Regions from separate parts of the Homo sapiens genome. Here regions 2, 3 and 4 are each linked to region 1. Evidence: promoter capture Hi-C in 16 types of primary human blood cells and fetal thymus (Javierre and others, 2016). All regions are on one chromosome and are shown on one strand. Each heading gives the region's core, a stretch centred on a gene start or on the middle of the fragment in contact. The rest is flanking DNA. Distances are from core to core; before and after follow the strand shown.

Region 1 (4,573 bases), core at 546-3,045:
GATGGAGTCTCGCTCTGTCGTCCAGGCTGGAGTGCAGTGCAGCGATCTTGGCTCACTGCAACCTCTGCCTCCCAGGTTCAAGCGATTCTCCTGCTTCAGACTCCCAAGTAGCTGGGATTACAGGCACCCGCCACCATGGCCATCTAATTTTTGTATTTTTAGTAGACACAGGGTTTCATTATGTTGGCCAGGCTAGTCTCGAACTCCGGACCTCAAGTGATCCATCCACCTCAGCCTCCCAAAGTGCAAGCTCACAGGCATGAGCCACCACACTCGGCCCTCATTTTTTTCTGATATGGAACACTTCATGAATTTGTCTGTCATCCATGTAAAGGGGCCATAATAGTCTTCTCTGCATGATCCCAATTTTATATGTGCTGCCAAAGGGAGTGCGAGATTACCATCTTCTAAGTCTGTGGTTCTATTAATAAAACCTTTTTTTCTTCTACCCCAGCATATCTGAGGAATATGACACAACCCCATTAGGTGGCTCACCACAGGTGGTGATTCTCAAAAAATAATCACTATTCTAGGACAGCACGGTAGCTCACGCCTATAATCCCAGCACTTTGGGAGCCAGAGGAGGGCGGATCACGTTAGGTCAGGAGTTCGAGACCAGCCTGGCCAACATCGTGAAACCCAGTCTCTACCAAATGATATAAAAAATTAGTGGGGCGTGGTGGCAGGCGCCTGTAATACCAGCTACTAGGGAGGTTGAAGCAGGAGAATCGCTTGAGCCGGGGAGGTGGAGGTTGCAGGGAGCCGAGATCATGCCACTGCACTCCAGCTTGGGTGACAGAGCAAGACTCTGTCTCAAAAAAAAAAAAAAATCACTATTCTAAACATGGTATTACTATGCCCTAAATGCATTTTAGTGATTTATTGTTCACACAGATGCCTAAAATCTTCCTGCAACTTACTTCTTTTCACTATTTAAAACAGATGTAGCCCGTCTGTTGTACCCTCATTCTGTCAGAACCCATATAAGAACTATTAAACACACCATCCTGAAGTTATCCCTGGGGGACTCCCACGTTGCTATCACTGGGACCACTTGGCCCTCCCTTTAGGTTCCTGACTTTAGGCTGATATACCGAGGTCAAAATAGTCTTCCTAGTCCAATCAACTAAAGGTTCTGCAGGATGGATGACCTTCCCTGACTCTACGTTAGGCAAGCCCGTATCACCTTACAGAAGTACTGGGAGAGCAAAGGTCTTAAATGATGCTGGCTTTCAGCCCCGCGTCAAATGTGACTTTAGGGAAATTACTTTCCGAGCCTCAACTTACTCCTCTACGTTAACGACTACTTCGTAGGGCTGCCGCGATGACTACCACAGTGCCTGGCACACAGTCAACACTCAATAAACAGCAGTTATTGCCACTATTGTGACCGCCCCAGGAAGTAGCTAGGGTAACTCAACAGCCGTGCACGAGACCAGGATGGGACTGGGAAACTGCATTCGGTGGGGCTATCACGCCAGCGGCGCGGCAGACGCGCTGGTGAGAGCTGTGAACGCGGTAAACTGTTCAAGCAGGAGGCGGGACAGCCAGCACCGCGCTTCGCCTTTCAGCTGGGCTCCAAGGCAACGCCAGGACTAAAGAAGGGAGGGAGGCCCCGGTTAGTCTCTGACCTTCATCTCCCGCTCGGGAATCATGGCATCCATCTCGTCTCCCATCGCGCCGCCCTCAGTGTGTCGAAGCAGCCAACGCTGCCTCCCACGGCCTTGCCCACGGAACCCAGGCCGCTCGACAGCAAACTTCCTCCCCTCAGCGCCAGCGGCGCGCAGTTGACCTCGCATTTCCGGCGCGCTTTGGTGACGTCAAGCTTGGTCAGAGGAAGCCGCGGAACCTAGCGAAGCCGCGCGTTCTTCCGGCCGCCGCTCCCCATTGGCCAGCTCGGGCTGAGTAGTGGCGTGGCCGTGAGGTCCCTGCGCCTGCGCCCTGGATGGTCCTGGTGCCGCTCCCGCCTTCGCAGCCAGCGCGGGCTTACCTAGTGTTAAGTCTCTCTTCTTGGGTGGCCCACGCCTAAGCGACCTATGCTTCTTGTTCTTCTGAAATCTTACAGTTCCCCTTAGATGTAGGTTGGCTATTGGTAGCTTCCGATTCAGATAAGTTTGGAACTTGACAGATGTTTTCGGGGGGCTGCTTTAGAGAGAGGCTTTGGACTATGCAAGGGGAGGAAGGGAGGTTCAGAAAAACGGGGTCGGGGGGTCGGCAGGGACGACTCTTAAAGTGTGGAAGGTGGAAGGCTGGGAGGGGAGATTAAAGGGCACCGAAGACCAGCTTTGTTTGCTCCTATCAAGGTGATCCTTTCCAGAGCAAGAGCCATATCCATGTCTAGTCGCACGAGTTTGTGCCAAGTCCTTTGCAAAAACCTTCAGATGTGGGATCTCATGTAATCTTGAAGACATCTTAGTCGTCCTAGGGGTTATTTATTTAATTGATGAGACGCGGGTGGCTCATGCCTATAATCCCAGCACTTGGGAGGCGGAGACAGGAGGATTGCTTGAGACCAGGAGTTTGAGACCAGCCTCGGCAACATGGCGAGACCCCGTCTCTATAAAAAACAAAACAAAACCACAAAAATTAGCCAGCAGTGATGGCATGCGTATGTAGTCTCAGCTACTCGGGAGGCTGAGGTGGGAGAATTGCCTGAGCCCAGGAGGTTGAGGCTACAGGGAGCTGTGATTGCACCATTGCACTCCAGCCTGGGTGACAGAGCCAGGCCCTGTCTCAAAAAGTAAATAAAAGGCCGGGCGCGGTGGCTCACGCCTGTAATCCCAGCACTTTGCGAGGCCGAGGCGGGCGGATCACGAGGTCAGGAGATGGAGACCATCCTGGCTAACACGGTGAAACCCCGACTCTACTAAAAATACAAAAAATTAGCCGGGCGCGGTGGCGGGCACCTGTAGTCCCAGCTACTCGGGAGGCTGAGGCAGGAGAATGGCGTGAACCCGGGAGGCGGAGGTTGCAGTGAGCAGAGACAGCGCCACTGCAGTCTGGCCTGGGCGAAAGAGCGAGACTCCGTCTCAAAAAAAAAAAAAAAAAAAAAGTAAATAAAAATAGGCTGGGAGCAGTGGCTCACGCCTGTAACCACAGTACTTTGGGAGGCCGAGGTGGGTGGAACACCTGAGGTCAGGAGCTCGAGACCAGCCTGGCCAACATGGTGAAACCCCGTCTCTGCTAAAAATACAACAATTAGCCGGGTGTGGTGGCGGACGCCTGTGTTCCCAGCTATACAGGAGGCTGAGGCAGGAGAATCGCATGAACACAAAAGGTGGAGGTTGCAGTGAGCTAAGATTGTGCCACTGCACTCCAGCCTGGGTGACAGAGTGAGACTCTGTCTCAGAAAAAAAAAAAAAAAAAAAAAAAAATATATATATATATATATATATACACACACACACACACATATATATATACACACACACACATATATATATATATACACACACACACATACACATACATAATAATAATTGATGAGGTAAGGGAGGCACAGAGAAGTTGAGAAAATTCTCCAATAGCCCTCAGTCAGAAAGTGGTGGTGACAGGATTAGAATTGAGATCGTCTGGATAAGGCTGACTGATGGTATTAAAGTCCTTCATAGAATACATTTCTGTAGTGAATTATAAATGCTCTAGGACAGAGGTTCTTTTTTTTTTTTGAGACGGAGTCTCACTCTGTCACTCATGCTGGAGTGCAGTGGCGCGATCTCGGCTCACTGCAAGCTCTGCCTCCCGGGTTCACAGCATTCTCCTGCCTCAGCTTCCCAAGTAGCTGGGACTACAGGCGGCCGCCACCACGCCCGGCTAATTTTTTGTATTTTTAGTAGAGACGGGGTTTCACCGTGTTAGCCAGGATGGTCTCCATCTCCTGACCTCGTGATCCGCCCACCTCAGCCTCCCAAAGTGCTGGGATTACAGGCGTGAGCCACCGCGCCCGGCCGACAGAGGTTCTTAACTTGGACCTCATGGGTTGGCTCCAGGGGGGTCGGATTGTGCCATTTACTGTTTGGCTTGCAGCACATTGCTTATTCAAGCCTACTTTTCAGTTGTGAAACAAGGATGACATAATAGAACCTGTCTCTTGCAGGGAGGTGGTTAGGATAAGTGAATTTCAGCTGTCTCAGACAAAAGGCACAGGACATGCTCATTTAATCTCTTACTATATTAGCTAGTTCGCAATTTGCTGAGCCCAGAACCAGCCCCAAAATACACCAATCAAGACGTTGGTAAGTTTGTCTGGTTTATTTGCAGGCTGTAGAGATGATATCCCAGTCCACGCACACTCCCATGCACACGCACACACATACTTCATCCACCTGAATTTGCCCGACAAACCCTCCTCTGAGTCATAGGGACAAAGCCATACTTGGCAGTCCTCACGTTACTGGTTACATTAGATTTGGTCTTTCAGAAAGAAGATGGTTGAAGTCCCAAGAAGCTGAGCCCTTAGCCAGAGAAGTAAGAGTCCTAGAACCAAGAGCCACAACCTGAAATAGATGCAGACTGCCCCCGCCCTCCTTCCAGGGACAACTCTTGAGACCCTCTCCTCCCAGGAGTTGAGTCT
Region 2 (4,573 bases), core at 594-3,093, 1.2 Mb before region 1:
CCTCTCAAGTAGCTGGGATTACAGGCATGTGCCACCACACCTGCCTAATTCTGTATTTTTAGTAGAGACGGGGTTTCTGCATGTTGGTCAGGCTGGTCTCGAACTCCCGACCTCAGGTGATCCGCCTGCCTCGGCCTCCCAAAGTGCTGGGGTTACAGGCGTGAGCCACCGCGCCCAGCACAAATAACTTTCTAATTGCTGACACCCATCTCAAAATCTGTCACTTGTCCCCCGGGCTTCCTCATCTCTGCCAGTGGTATTGTTACCGGGCATCCTGTGTTGGAATGGATTCTTTAACCAAGATCAACAGAGCTGGAGCTCTGGACCAGCAATCTCAGTTCTTGTGATAGTGAGCAAAGAATTGCAAACTAGGCTGGGCTCACACCTGTAATCCCAGCACTTTGGGAGGCCAAGGCAGATGGATCACGAGGTCAGGAGATCGAGACCATCCTGGCAAACACGGTGAAACCCCATCTCTACTAAAAATACAAAAAAATTAGCCGGGCATGGTGGCGGGCGCCTGTAGTCCCAGCTACTCGGGAGGCTGAGGCAGATTGCGCCACTGCACTCTAGCCCGAGCGACAGAGCGAGACTCCATCTCAAAAAAAAAAAAAAAAGGCAAACTAACACTGAAATGCAAGCTTACAGCAAGATTTATTGCAACACAGTAAAACACTCTGAGGGAGAGCAGGCTCATTTCTGGGAAGTAAAATCAGCCCCTCTTTACAAAAATCAAGGTGCTTTTATGGGGTTTGTTGGAGGAGTTGAGGCTTGGGCTGTGTTTGAGTGACAGGATGATATCATTTGATTGGCAGTTTATGGTTATATCCCTGAAGTTAAACTGCGCATGTTTTTACCCATAATTCATTAAGAAAAGCCCACTCAGAGAGGCAAAACCACATGTAAATTTTATTATAACGACTATAATGAGGATGGGTTTTCCCTGGGTTATGGCCTACATGGACTGGGCACGTGTGGCTTTAGGCCATCGTTATCTGTGCCCCAGTTTTTCTTTCTCCAGGATGTGCTGGCCCCAGATTGTACCATAAATTCCATCCATTAGGGTGGAGTTAGGACGGTCTCAGGCTGAACTTAGGTGGGCTAGGGCTGGTCTTAGTGACAGCCCTCCTGCTTTCTTCTCTCTCCCTCTCCCAGCTGCTAATGTCCATCTAACTACCTAACAGTATTGTCGTTCTGTTTGTTCAAGTCAGAAACCTAGAAGTCATCCTGTTTCCATCCTTTCCTCCAGGACCTCCACATCCAACCTAAGAGCAAACCCCACCCCACCACATTTGTCTCCAAGCCCACCTGGACTCTAGTCTAGCCACCTCCACTGCCACCTGCCGTGATCTCAGGCTTCATTCTCTGAGTTACACTGATCTCCTTGCTTCCCCTACCAGCCCTTCTCCAATCTGTAGTCCCCACATCTGCACAACTGATACTGCACCACCCTGTTGAGAACCTTGAAATGGGGCCAGGGGTGGTGGCTCATGCCTGTAATCCCAGCAATTTGGGAGGCTGAGGCAGGGGGATCACCTGAGGTCAGGAGTTCGAGACCAGCCTGGCCAACATGGTGAAACCCTGTCTCTACTAAAAATACAAAAGTTAGCCAGGTGTGGTGGTGGGAACCTGCAATCCCAGCTACTTGGGAGGCTGAGGCAGGAGAATTGCTTGAACCCAGGAGGCAGAGGTTGCAATGAACCAAAATCATGCCATTACACTCCAGCCTGGGTGATAGAGCGAGACTCTGTCAAAAAAGAAAGAGAAGACAGAGAGAGAGAGAGAAAGTAAGAGAGAGAGAGAAAGAAAGAAAGAAACCTTGAAATGGCTTCCCACATGCTTTTGGATAATATTCAAACTCTATGTCATCGTGTCTACAGGGGTTTCGCACAATGTGCTGTTGCTGATCTCTTCAGCCCTGTCTCAGGCTCTTATTCCTCTCACCCACCACACTCCAGGAACCTGCTGTTGAATGAATGAATGAATAGCAGGAAACACCCCATGGCCTTTGCAGGTACCGTTTCTTCGCTAGAACAATGCAACAAAACTTTGCAAGGCTGACTCCTCATTTAATTTTCTACTCAATGGAAAAGAGTGGAAGGTTCATTTTTGCAAGACTGACTCCTCATTTAGGTTTCCACTCAAATGAGGTTTCCTCAGAGAGAAGACATTATCTGACCTCCCCCCGGTGCCAAGTAGACCCCCATGAATTTACCTCATTCTGGTGTTATGTGTATAGCATTTATCTCTATCCTGCTTTTTGAATTACTTTTTTACTGCCCAGCTCCTGCCTCAGAATATAAGCTCCAAGGAAGCAGAAATGCATTTATTCCCACATCCCCCAGAACCTTGAATGGTGTCTGGGTTGACTGAATGAATGGAAGGAAGGGAATAGTAGGGGAAGGAGGAAAAGAGGAAGGAAAGAAGCCAGGCAGGAAGACAATAGACAATCACAATCATGTTGAATGCTACAAAGAATTATAGGCAGGGCTATCCTTGCGGGGAAGGGGAAGGGGAAGGGGTGGCTGGCAATTTGGAGGAGGGGGAGCCAGGATTCCTGTCTATATAAGCAACTTGAGACACCCCAAAGTCATTTTCTAGACACCATGCTGGTGGTCCAATCTCAGGCAATTCTGCAAAAGAAACAGCTCACTAGTCAGCTGAATTGGCCCACCACCCTACCTTCCTAGAACCAGAGCCAGACACATAGCTCTGGAAGAAGCCCCTCAGTACAAGTTTCCCCAAGCTCCTGGGAGCATCTGGTCCACCCCACGTGCAGGGGTTAGGGGTAGAGAGTTGGAGGGTGCCCCCAACAGGGAGAATTGGAGCTGAGGACCTCAAAGTCCTGCTCTAGGCTCTGCCCAGGGAAGGTACTGGGCCAGGCCAATTCTCCCTGACAGTAACACAGACAGGCCTGCATAGCACCCCAGTTACACAGACACATTTCCACAGCACTGCCTTAACATTGAGCTAATAATTAGACCCAGAGAAATCGATGCCCAGATCTCAAAGCCAGAAATGAAACATACGTTCAGGAGAAGCTTTGCACAGGCTTCTCCCAAACTTGGAGCAAGTCAAGATAATGGAGACAGCCTTACATTCCTTGTGCCAGGACCCGTCTCAGGTCAATGAAATCCGGGACGCGTCAAGGTAACAAAGGCAGCTGTGCGAACAGATTTACTGGATAGTCTAAGGCAGCTCTCTGGACCAAACCGTTAAAGAGAGAAGATAGAAATAATCACCTCAGTACCACAGTCCTCATTAATTAGAATTTGGGAGACAGGCCTTGATGATACTGGGGTCCTCATAGATTCATTAAACTTAGAAGGCATTTTTGGCTCCTAACCTTCTAGTTAGAACAAAATTAGTCACCTATAGACTTAGCCGAATGCGATACCACACATAGCCATATAACCCCCACACACGTAAGCACTGAGAAAATTGTAATGCTTCGAGTTGGTCTGGTGAAACTATCTCCGACCTTCTCCCTGTATCTGGTTACAGCAATAAACTTCCTTTCTTAGTTTATCTGCTTCTCGTTACTGAGCCACTAGAACACGCAGCCAGACCCGGCCTGGGCTTGGTCTGGGAACAGTACTGCCAGCCCCAACTTGTCCCACGCAGTAGAGAGGGACTTTGAAAACGTTGAGAAGTCACTCCAAACAGCAAGGGTCCCTGAGGGCTTGCCCAGGTCTGAAGGCGGGACTGAGAATACAGGCCTCCTTGGAAGGGCTTAACCCAGTTGGGAAGGAGAAGGCTCTCGGAACACCCTGTACTCACCCTTGTGTAACTTTCAGCACAGTGGAAATTGCTAACCTAATGCCTGTGCCTCCCTTTGAATGTGAATGCCACTGACTGGTCATAACCACCCTCCAGTGAGGATTTACTCGATGTCTGTTGAATATATGGCAAGATGCAGGGTGCTTTTTACCTTAAACTTTTATGTACTCAAAACTTTTTTCAACATCACTTTTTCCAAGGCCTTTGTAGCTATTTTTTGTTTGTTTGTTTGTTTGAGAGGGAGTCTTGCTCTGTCGCCCAGGCTGGAGTGCAGTGGTGCAATCTCAGCTCACTGCAACCTCCGCCTCTCAGGTTCAAGCGATTCTCCTGCCTCAACCTCCCAAGCAACTGGGATTACAGGTGCCTACCATGATGCCCGGCTAATTTTTGCATTTTTAGTAGTGACAGGTCTTCACCATGTTGGCCAGGCTGGTCTAGAACTCCTGACCTCAAGTGATCTTCCCACCTTGGCCTCCCAAAGTGCTGGGATTACAGGCGTAAGCCACCGCGCCCAGCCCACTGTAGCTGTTTTTAAGAGAAAAAACATATATTAAAATCATTCTGGGTTTTAAAAAAATTGCATAGGGATTTGTTTTTAGCAGTTTAGCAGTGTAGGTATCCAGACTGCCCCGACCTCCCTCTGAACACCAGAAAGGTTGAATAAAGGTTTTATTCAATGTTATTAAATGCATCAATGAGCTGGCAAGAAAGTTGGTGAAAGTGGAAACCCATAAGGTAAGCAAAGCACCGTAGCTGGCCTTCAACCAGTTATTAAATAAAACAAACAGAATAG
Region 3 (4,573 bases), core at 1,203-3,702, 1.2 Mb before region 1:
TTAAGAGTGTTGGGGATCAGCCTCAATACCACCCGTAGGGTACCCGAAGTGCAGTGGTGACAAAGAAATGAGAAGAGACAGGTTAAGAGTTCATAAAGGAGGGAACCAGGGGGCCAGAGCAAATCAGAGGCTGCAAAGGCTCCAAGCTATGATCTCCACACTATTTATTGAAATAAATAGTGAAATGGTGAAAGGAGAGCCGTGTGTCATACACCTAATGTATAGGAATGGCGGTTTAGGTAAATTTTCTTTGTGCTGAAGCAGTATAAACTTAACTACTGATTTATTTTTTAACTTATCAGAGAGCAGCTGTGGGGAGTGGGCCTAACTAGGAGCTGGCATATCTGGCCACATTCCAGTGCTTCAAAGGAGTATCTTTCTCCTTGAGCACAGTGTTTATAGATAGGAGAGCAGGTCACATTCTGGTCATGGGAACATGATGGCAATTAGAAGGCTTTACTCCTCAGAGGCCTCTTGTGGCTTTCTACAACTTACTGTTCCATATTTTTATGGCTGGTTTATGCAGGCACCCCACAAGCCCTTTCCCCAACATGAGAGAACTGCTTCGTTTATTTTATCTCATCATTTTTCTTGAAACTATTTTGCTATGGAATGTCCTACTGAACATAGTTTGAAAATGTTACTGTAATAGAATCTCAACTCTGTAGTGTACTGTTTAGATGGCCTTGCTAACCTTTATTAGGTAGAAATGATAACTACTTGCCTTATAGGATTGTTAGGAACAATATCTGAAATAATGTATAAGAAGTTTGTGGTGTAGTCCCTGGTGTCTGGTTAATTGGAAGTTCATGTTTGCTCCCTTCTCTGATTATTAACATATTTACTTAGAAATATAGATACTATGTATAGAGACAGGATTGATCAGCAGTGTCCTTATTAGTCCTTAACTGTGATTCTTATCAACAGGAAACTGTGGAGATATAAATTTAGTACGACTGGGTCCAGAAAAGTCTATTAATAGTGAGGTTCTAAAGTTCAGTTTGGACAGCCAAGTAAACCACAGAATGAGTAAGTACTGAATGTGGTATATACTAGTGTTTTCTCTGTTTTGTTTGGTGGAAAATGACTTGGGCACTAAAGGTAATTTGAAGCCTCCAGAATTAGTCTGGCTTTGGGAACTAATTTTCCTTCTCATTGTGTTGTATATGTGTGTGAGTTTGTTAGAATTAGAATAGCATATAATTTTTTATTTGTTATTTTTATTAGAAAAAGAGTTACCTTCTCATGTTCAGGCGATGCATAAAAGAAAGGAATTTCTAGATTATCAGCTGGATGAGCTTTCCCGGCAGCGAGCTCTATGCCGAGGTGGACGGGAAATACAGGTATCTTTGCATTTCTTGAATAATAACTCAGGTATACGAACTAGTTAACAAGTTTTTTTTGAGACAGAGTCTTGCTCTGTCTTCCAGGCTGGAGTGCAGTAGCACAATCCTGACTCACTGCAGCCTCACCTTCCTGGGTTCAGGTGATCCTCCTGCCTCAGCCTCCCGAGTAGGTGGGATTACAAGGTTGTGCCGGCACACCTGGCTAATTTTCTGTATTTTTAATGGAGATGGGGTTTCACCATGTTGGCCAGGCTAGTCTCGAACTCCCGGCCTCAAGTTGATCTGCCCACCTCAGCATCCCAAAGTGCTGGGATTACAGGCATGAGCCATTGCGACCAGCCTAATTAATGAGTATTTAATGCCCTTTATTTATTGGGGAATGGCATGATTCATGTATAAAAATGTGTACTAAGACACTAAAAATGTGTCTCAGATTAACACATTTCTTTCTGCTTTTTTTTTTTTTGTCCTTTTGGTTTTAATTTTTTTTTTCATTTTTTCTTTTATTAAAATTACTTTTGTTAAAAATCTTTTTAAAAACTTTTTTGTAAAGGGCAAGATATTCTAGTAAAGATTTTAGGCTTTGCAAGCCATATGGTTGGTTTCTGTTGCAGCTATTCAACTCTGCTTTTGGTAGCACAAAGGCAGCCATAGATAATACATAAACAAATGGATGTGGCTGTGTTCCAGTAGAACTTTATTTACGAAAATAGATGGGGTGTTGCGTTTTTGTTTGTTTTTGAGATAGGGTCTCACTTTGTGGCCCAGGCTGGAGTGCAGTGGTGCAGTTGTGGTTCAATTTAGCCTCAAGCTCTTGGACTCAAGTGAGCTGTCTTTCTGCCTCAGCCTCTTGAGTAGCTGGGACTACAGCCGTGTGCCATCATGCCTGGCTAATTTTTTTGTTTGTTTTCTGTAGAAACTGGGTCTTGCCATGTTGCCCAGGGTGGTCTGAACTTCTTGCCTCAAGCAGTCCTCTCACCTTAGCCTCCCAAAGTGCCAGGATTACAGGCATGAGTCCCTGCACATGGCCTTGCATTTGGCTTATAGGCTGTACTGCCTTATATTAAAGCTATACTGAGTTTATTAGTTGCCTTTCAGTTGCATGTTGAGCCCAGTTCAAATTAGGTTAGACAGAAAGGGAATTAGCTTCAGTATGGGTGGATCCAGAGGGTCACATGATATCATTTCTCCACTCCATAATTTGTTTTTCTGTGTGTCAGCCATTTCTTCTGAGAAAGGTGAGTGTCAGCATCTCAGGGCTTCCACCATCTCAGCTTTGAAACCCCAGAGGGAGAGAAAGTCTTTCTCTTAGCATCCATATATCCAAAGAAGCAGTTAGTTTAGTCCCTGGGTGAGCAAGCAGGTCTAATCCCTATTTTTAAGAAGATGGGTGCATGATTGGCCAGGCCTGTGTTAGATGCCCATCACTGTGGCCAGAGGAATGGTTGGGGTGTGATTTACAGCCTCATTTGAATCACCTGGAAGTTAAGGGTGGCGTGATGCTCCCAGTGCTGGAATGCTAAGCAGACAGCTCACGTGCAGCGCACAGAACACAGCTGAGTCTTACGCAGCAGCATACAGAGTGTGTCAGGACTCCAGTGGTAAAGAGGAAATAAGCTGGGTAAATACATTTTTCATTGGTGAAATACAGGCTCTTTTAAAATTAGAGGTAGTCCATTGGAAGGCATTTAAAAATGCTTAGTTTAGTTTTAATTGTGACATTTGAATTTTTTTCCAGAGGCAAGAATTAGATGAAAACATTTCCAAAGTTTCTAAGGAAAGGCAGGAACTTGCTTCTAAAATTAAAGAGGTAAGTAGTTCACCTGTAGCATTTTCTTGATTTTTTTTTTTTTCTTTTTAAAATTTAAGTATGACTGTTCAGACAAGCTATGGGCTTTTATTTATTTATTTTGGAGACAGAGTCTCACTCTGTCTCTCAGGCTGGGGTGCAGTGGCATGATCTCAGCTCACTGCAACCTCAGTCTCCCATGTGGCTGGGATTACAGGCGTGCACCACCATGCCTGGCTAATTTTTTTTTTTTTTTTTTTTTGAGGTGAAGTCTTGCTCTGTCACCAGACTGGAGTATAGTGGCGTGATCTTGGCTCACTGCAACCTCTGCCTCCCGGGTTCAAGCGATTCTCCTGCCTCAGCCTCCCGAGTAGCTAGGATTACAGGCGTGTGCCACCACGCCCAGCTAATTTTTGCATTGTTAGTAGAGACGGGGTTTCACCGTGTTGGCCAGGATGGTCTGGATCTCTTGACGTCATGATCCTCCTGCCTCAGCCTCCCTCAAAGTGCTGGGATTACAGGCGTGAGGCACCACACCTGGCCTCTTTTGTGTTTTTTTTTTTTTGAGACAGAGTCTCACTCTGTTGCCAGGCTGGAGTGCAGTGGCACAATCTCAGCTCACTGCAACCTCTGCCTCCCAGGTTCAAGTGATTCTCCTGCCTCAGCCTCCCGAGTAGCTGGGACTACAGGTGTGCGCCACCACGCCCGACTAAATTTTGTATTTTTAGTAGAGATGGGGTTTCACCATGTTGGCCAGGATGGTCTCCATCTCATGACGTTGTGATCCGCCCACCTCGGCCTCCCTAAGTGCTGGGATTACAGGCGTGAGCCACCATGCCTGGCCCTTTTTTTGTATTTTTAATAGAGATGGGGTTTCACCATGTTGGCCATGCTGGTCTGGAACGTCCAACCTCAAGTCATCCCCCGTCTCGGCCTCCCAAAGTGTTGGCATTACAGGCGTGAGCCACCATGCCTGGCCAGCTATGGGCTTTTCTCAGTTACATTTTAAATTGTTATGAAAAATTACAAACATCTGTGGAAGTGGAGAAAATGGTGTAACAACATTTGCATTTTTTTCTTTAACCTAAGAATGAATTCTTACCACCATCTAAGATTTCTAAGAGGTGGTTATAAGTTATCTTTTTTGTTTTAAGTCTGGTAAATATTTAAATTCTTTCTTATAAGGTGCTCTATTTCTGCTTCCCATAAACTGCAAAAAACAATTATGATAATTATCATCAGATAAACAGTTAATGAAAATAGCTTTGGCCAGGCGCGGTGGCTCACGCCTGTACTCCCAGCACTTTGGGAGGCCGAGGCGGGCGGATCACGAGGTCAGGAGATTGAGACCATCCTGGCTAACACAGTGAAACCCCGTCTCTAATAAAATACAAAAAATTAGCTGGGCGTGGTGGTGGGCACCTGTAATCCCACCTAC
Region 4 (4,573 bases), core at 689-3,188, 1.1 Mb before region 1:
AGGGTCAGTTTATAAATAGACCTTTCTTTCCCAGCTAATTTGAAATTTCACTTTTATCATACATCAATTCTATTTCTGAGCTCTTTTTCTGATCTACTGAAATATTTATCTGGTGTTCATGTATTTCTACACTAGTTCTACAATATCTTAACAGTCTAGATATATTTAAATGTAAGAATAAAGTGATTAGGCTGGTACCACATTTTTAGGATTTTTCAAGGCTTCAAGATTGCACTGTTAAAATTTCCAATTATCTTATCCAGGTAAAAATAGGAAATTGATAGATGCATCACTTTGAAGGAAGCCCCGAGGTTTTGGTTTGTTTCCTGTTTTTAATAGGAATTCTTCTGTGCCCGGTACCCTGTATTGGGACGGAGAGTAAGAAAGCACTGTGACTTCTAGAGGAGTGAAGGAGTCCCGGAAAAGCTGCCTGCAGTCCACCTGTGTCTCACATGGGCATGCTGAGTCATTCTAGAGTTCACCTGTGTCTCACTGGCATGCTGAGTCATTCTAGAGTCCATCTGTGTCTCACATGGGCATGCTGAGTCTAGAGTCCACCTGTGTCTCACACGGGCACGCTGAGTCATTCTAGAGTCTACCTGTGTCTCACATGGGCACGCTGAGTCATTCTAGAGTCCACCTGTGTCTCACATGGGCATACTGAGTCATTGTAGAGTCCACCTGTGTCTCACATGGGCACGCTGAGTCATTCTAGAGTCCACCTGTGTCTCACATGAGGATGCTGAGTCATTCTAGAGTCCACCTGTGTCTCACACGGGCACGCTGAGTCATTCTAGAGTCCACCTGTGTCTCACATGAGGATGCTGAGTCATTCTAGAGTCCACCTGTGTCTCACACGGGCACGCTGAGTCATTCTAGAGTCCACCTGTGTCTCACATGAGGATGCTGAGTCATTCTAGAGTCCACCTGTGTCTCACACGGGCACGCTGAGTCATTCTAGAGTCCACCTGTGTCTCACATGAGGATGCTGAGTCATTCTAGAATCCACCTGTGTCTCACACGGGCACGCTGAGTCATTCTAGAGTCCACCTGTGTCTCGGGCTCACTGAGTCATTCAAGATTCCACCTCTGTCAGACACGGGCACGTTGAGTCATTCTAGAGTCCACCTTTGTCTCACATGGGCATGTTAAGTCATTCTAGACAAAGAAGGAACTCTTTTTTTATTGCCTAGATTCCTGGCAAGTTTGCAGAGATTGAATGTCACCATCACACGAGCCAAGTACAGCCTCTTCATCCTCGGACATTTGAGGACCCTGATGGTAGGTACCAGAGAGCTCAGAAGTTTACCCATTGTTACTGTTGTTGGATTGAGTTTTTGTTCTTATTTTCCATCAAAGTGTAAATGATTTCTGGATTACAAAATAATGGTTGTTATGTTTTCCAGCAACTTCTTCCTAGGAGCTTTTGTGTACACGTGAACCATTCGCCTTTTTTCAGCCCAGAACCCAAGTATCTACACTGGGCTCTCAAGGTGACCATTTTAAAACAAATTATCCACATCATAGGATTATTGTTAAGAAGGTATATTAAACCCACAGATGTAAAGTGCCAAAGCAATTGCTTGGCACTTAGTAAACACTCAGTAAATGTGGCTGTTATTGGCCCAGCTTAATGCCAGAGAGAGTTTGCAGGCGCGTGCTCTGCTCTGCTTTTCTGCTGGCACTGGGAGCTGTGCTGCTCACTCTGTTTCTCCAGCACTTAGCGCCTCCGGCATTCTTCTGCCAGGACAGGCGCCCCTCTGGAAGAGGTGTACGAGTTTCCAACTTCAGTAGACAAATGGTACAGCTTAATTCACTGATATCACAGCTAGATGTAGCACGTATTTGCTGTTTGTCTTATTAGGGGTAATAACTTTGTAGTTTTCCTCATTTCTCTTTTTTATGAAGTCATTGATTTCATCTAAGAAGAGCCAACTTGGTGGCTGTTTCCCCTGGTTTTGGTTCCTGCCACCAGGTGGCGCTCAGATACACCTTCTTTCTTGTTTCACTCCTCTATCACCTCCAGCCTTTGTCGTCTGTGTGCCTGCTCTGAAGGAAGTTTTAAAAGCTGTGTACCGTTTATTTTTATGTACCTCCTATTTTTAAGTTGATAGAAAAAATCTTTGTAAGTTTAAATATTACTGAAGATTATGCTTCTGATGTATTATCAATATTGACATTTTAAAATACAGCAATTAAAATTATTACATCACTCTTAAATATATCCAGTGGAATAGAAAGCAATATTATTTTATTTTTTCCTCTCTTTGAAATTGTACTTCCATTCCTGCTTGTTTAGGCTAAGATTCACTGGGGTAATCTCTTTTTAGAATTAAAAGCCTTTAAGTTAATCTCACTGATCTACACCTCTCTCACAAAAATTTCTGTATAACTTGAAAGTTTAAAAAGTTGTTTTCCCCTGGCGGGAGTGCAGTGGCACAATCACAGCTCACTGCAGCCTCCGCCTCCTGGATTTAAGCCGTTCTCCCACCTCAGCCTCCTGAGTAGCTGAGACTATAGGCGCATGTACCTAATTTTTGTACTTTTAGTAGAGAAAGGGTCTTACCATGTTGTCCAGGCTGGTCTCAAACTCCTGGGCTAAAGTCATCCCACCTCGGCCTAAAAAGTTGATTTTTATCACTATTTGGGGAACCCATGTGAAGGGTGCATGCAACCTCTCAGTACTTTCCTTGCAACTTCCTGTAAATCTATAGTTATCTCAAAATGTAGGTTTGGATTTTTAAAAATTGCTTTTCCTGTGACCATAAGCATCTGAGTGTTAAAACGTGATCTCTTATCAATTGAATAGCCTGTTAACACTTATTTGTACAGTTGAGCAAAACAAGACAAATATATTTAATATCACAGATTTTGATCATGTTTAAACCTGACAAGTAAATGAAATGTTGCTAGAGATACATCTTTTAGTGATGCCTTGATTAAAGGAGGCTTTGTGGGCACTACTGTTTTTCATCCTCCCTTAAGTTGGCACCTCATGGTGTTGATGTGTCTTGGCAGTGCACTCTGGATGGATGAGGCGCATCATGATTGTGAAGGGTGGGGTGCAGGAGGCAGGGCAGCCCAAGGAGGACATGGGAAGTAGGGTTTGCAAGGTTATTCTGTAACCCTTTTTCACATTCCGTTTAGACAGTGTTTGGGAGCCCCTGGGTCACACTTGCACAACTGTGCAGACCACTGACCTCCAGCTAATGGCACCGACATTGTCTTCACTCTAGGAAGGCAGTGCTACAAAAAGAGACAGACGAGAATCTGAAACTTCCCGACATGTCAGCTGGGCTTCCTAACTTTTTTTGTCCTTGGGCTTTTTCTTTGTTGTTTTGGGGATTCATTTGCTTTTGTTTCTAAGTTTTTAGCCTAGTTCCCCTTATGGGAATGGGATCAATCATTAAAGCGTTTGATTTCCTCTGAGAAACCAAGGCTAATAGTGCCTGCTCAGAACTGTTTCTGTGATCTTAGGAATGGATTAAACACCAAGTTTAGGTGTAGTGAACTTAGCAAAAATTGCAAGGCCATCTGCTTCACATATGTGTTTGAGCCACAGGCTAAGGATCTCTAGAGATCTGAGTGAGAAAGAGAACTGAGCCCCCAGAGCCTGGCGCTCCCTCCACAGACCTGTCTTCAGTATGCCAGCCACCGGGCCAAGCATTTTATTCTGGTCACATGACTTTCTCCAAACCTTGAAAAACTACTGTGAAGTCAGCTTATTACCATAGTTCATCAAATTCAAGAAACCATTCATTATAATATACACCACTATTTTATGTACCATTATTAGACTATGACACAGTGCCTTATTTTCACTTAGAACTTTCATATTTATTGAAAGGACTCTTAAGACTTTAGACAGATTTTTACCATATTCTTATCCATACATAGAAAATACAAGTAAAATAATAGGTTAAGATATTCCTAAAAATATTTCACTTTCAGAATTTAGCACGAATGAATCACTTCCCAATCCATAGTCATCAGTGTTGTCATTCATCCCAAGTGCAATAATAAGGTTGGCAATTTAGCATTTGCTAAGAGTTACACCATTGTCTCCAGGATTTCTTAGAACCCTTTATCTCCAGTGTATAAGGTTTTTTTGGGGGTTTTTTTTTGAGACAGAGCCTCACCTTGTTGCCCAGGCTGGAGTGCAGTGGCACAATCTCAGCTCACTGCAACGTCCGCCTCCTGGGTTCAGGCGATTCTCATGCCTTAGCATCTCAAGTACCTGGGATTATAGCTGTGCACCACTACACTTGGCTAATTTTTGTATTTTTAGTAGAGACGGGGTTTCACCATGTTGCCCAGGCTCGTCTTGAACCTCTGACCTCAGGTGATCCGCCCGCCTCAGCCTCCCAAAGTGTTAGGATTACAGGCATGAGCCACTGCACCTGGCCCAGTGCATAAGTTTTAATGCTGGTGTTATCTTGTCTTATCAGAAAATGTCTGTAGAAGGTTTTCAGGCATTATTTTTAAATGGTTTATTGACTAAAAGTCTAAGGGTTATAATTGCCTCATCATGTAATTTCCAAGGATAGGTACATGGCCAAGAGGCTCCCCAAGG

What was found. The method cuts DNA at HindIII sites, captures the fragments that hold promoters and counts their contacts. A CHiCAGO score of 5 or more calls a contact.
Region 2: a fragment that was not itself captured here is called in contact with the fragment with the promoter of NUP214 in region 1 in 1 of 17 cell types (monocytes); the score reaches 5.1 in monocytes.
Region 3: a fragment that was not itself captured here is called in contact with the fragment with the promoter of NUP214 in region 1 in 9 of 17 cell types (M2 macrophages, M0 macrophages, naive B cells and 6 more); the score reaches 16.7 in M2 macrophages.
Region 4: a contact is called between a fragment that was not itself captured here and the fragment with the promoter of NUP214 in region 1, in 4 of 17 cell types (M2 macrophages, naive B cells, M0 macrophages and 1 more). The highest score is 9.0, in M2 macrophages.

The regions. Positions count from the first base shown.
Region 1 is chr9:131,122,808-131,127,380 of GRCh38, reverse strand. NUP214 (nucleoporin 214) reads right to left here and starts at 1,795. Exons shown (of 36, transcript NM_005085.4): 1 at 1,632-1,795. The coding sequence starts at 1,676. It overlaps AIF1L (allograft inflammatory factor 1 like), which reads right to left. Exons shown (of 6, transcript NM_031426.4): 6 at 4,237-4,573. It also overlaps the pseudogene RNU6-881P. RefSeq lists an enhancer at 1,597-1,896. The HindIII fragment of the contact is 3,004 bases long and covers 1-1,827 here.
Region 2 is chr9:132,367,016-132,371,588 of GRCh38, reverse strand. No RefSeq gene overlaps it. Among named protein-coding and RNA genes, the nearest start is that of SETX, 14 kb to the right of the region's middle. The HindIII fragment of the contact is 2,400 bases long and covers 644-3,043 here.
Region 3 is chr9:132,285,006-132,289,578 of GRCh38, reverse strand. SETX (senataxin) reads left to right here. Exons shown (of 26, transcript NM_015046.7): 16 at 928-1,029; 17 at 1,228-1,343; 18 at 3,085-3,156. Among named protein-coding and RNA genes, the nearest start is that of SETX, 68 kb to the left of the region's middle. The HindIII fragment of the contact is 5,115 bases long and covers 1-4,573 here.
Region 4 is chr9:132,266,323-132,270,895 of GRCh38, reverse strand. It overlaps SETX (senataxin), which reads left to right. Exons shown (of 26, transcript NM_015046.7): 25 at 1,194-1,281. Among named protein-coding and RNA genes, the nearest start is that of SETX, 86 kb to the left of the region's middle. RefSeq lists a silencer at 966-1,140 and enhancers at 241-1,226, 345-1,544, 1,227-2,213. The HindIII fragment of the contact is 9,425 bases long and covers 1-4,573 here.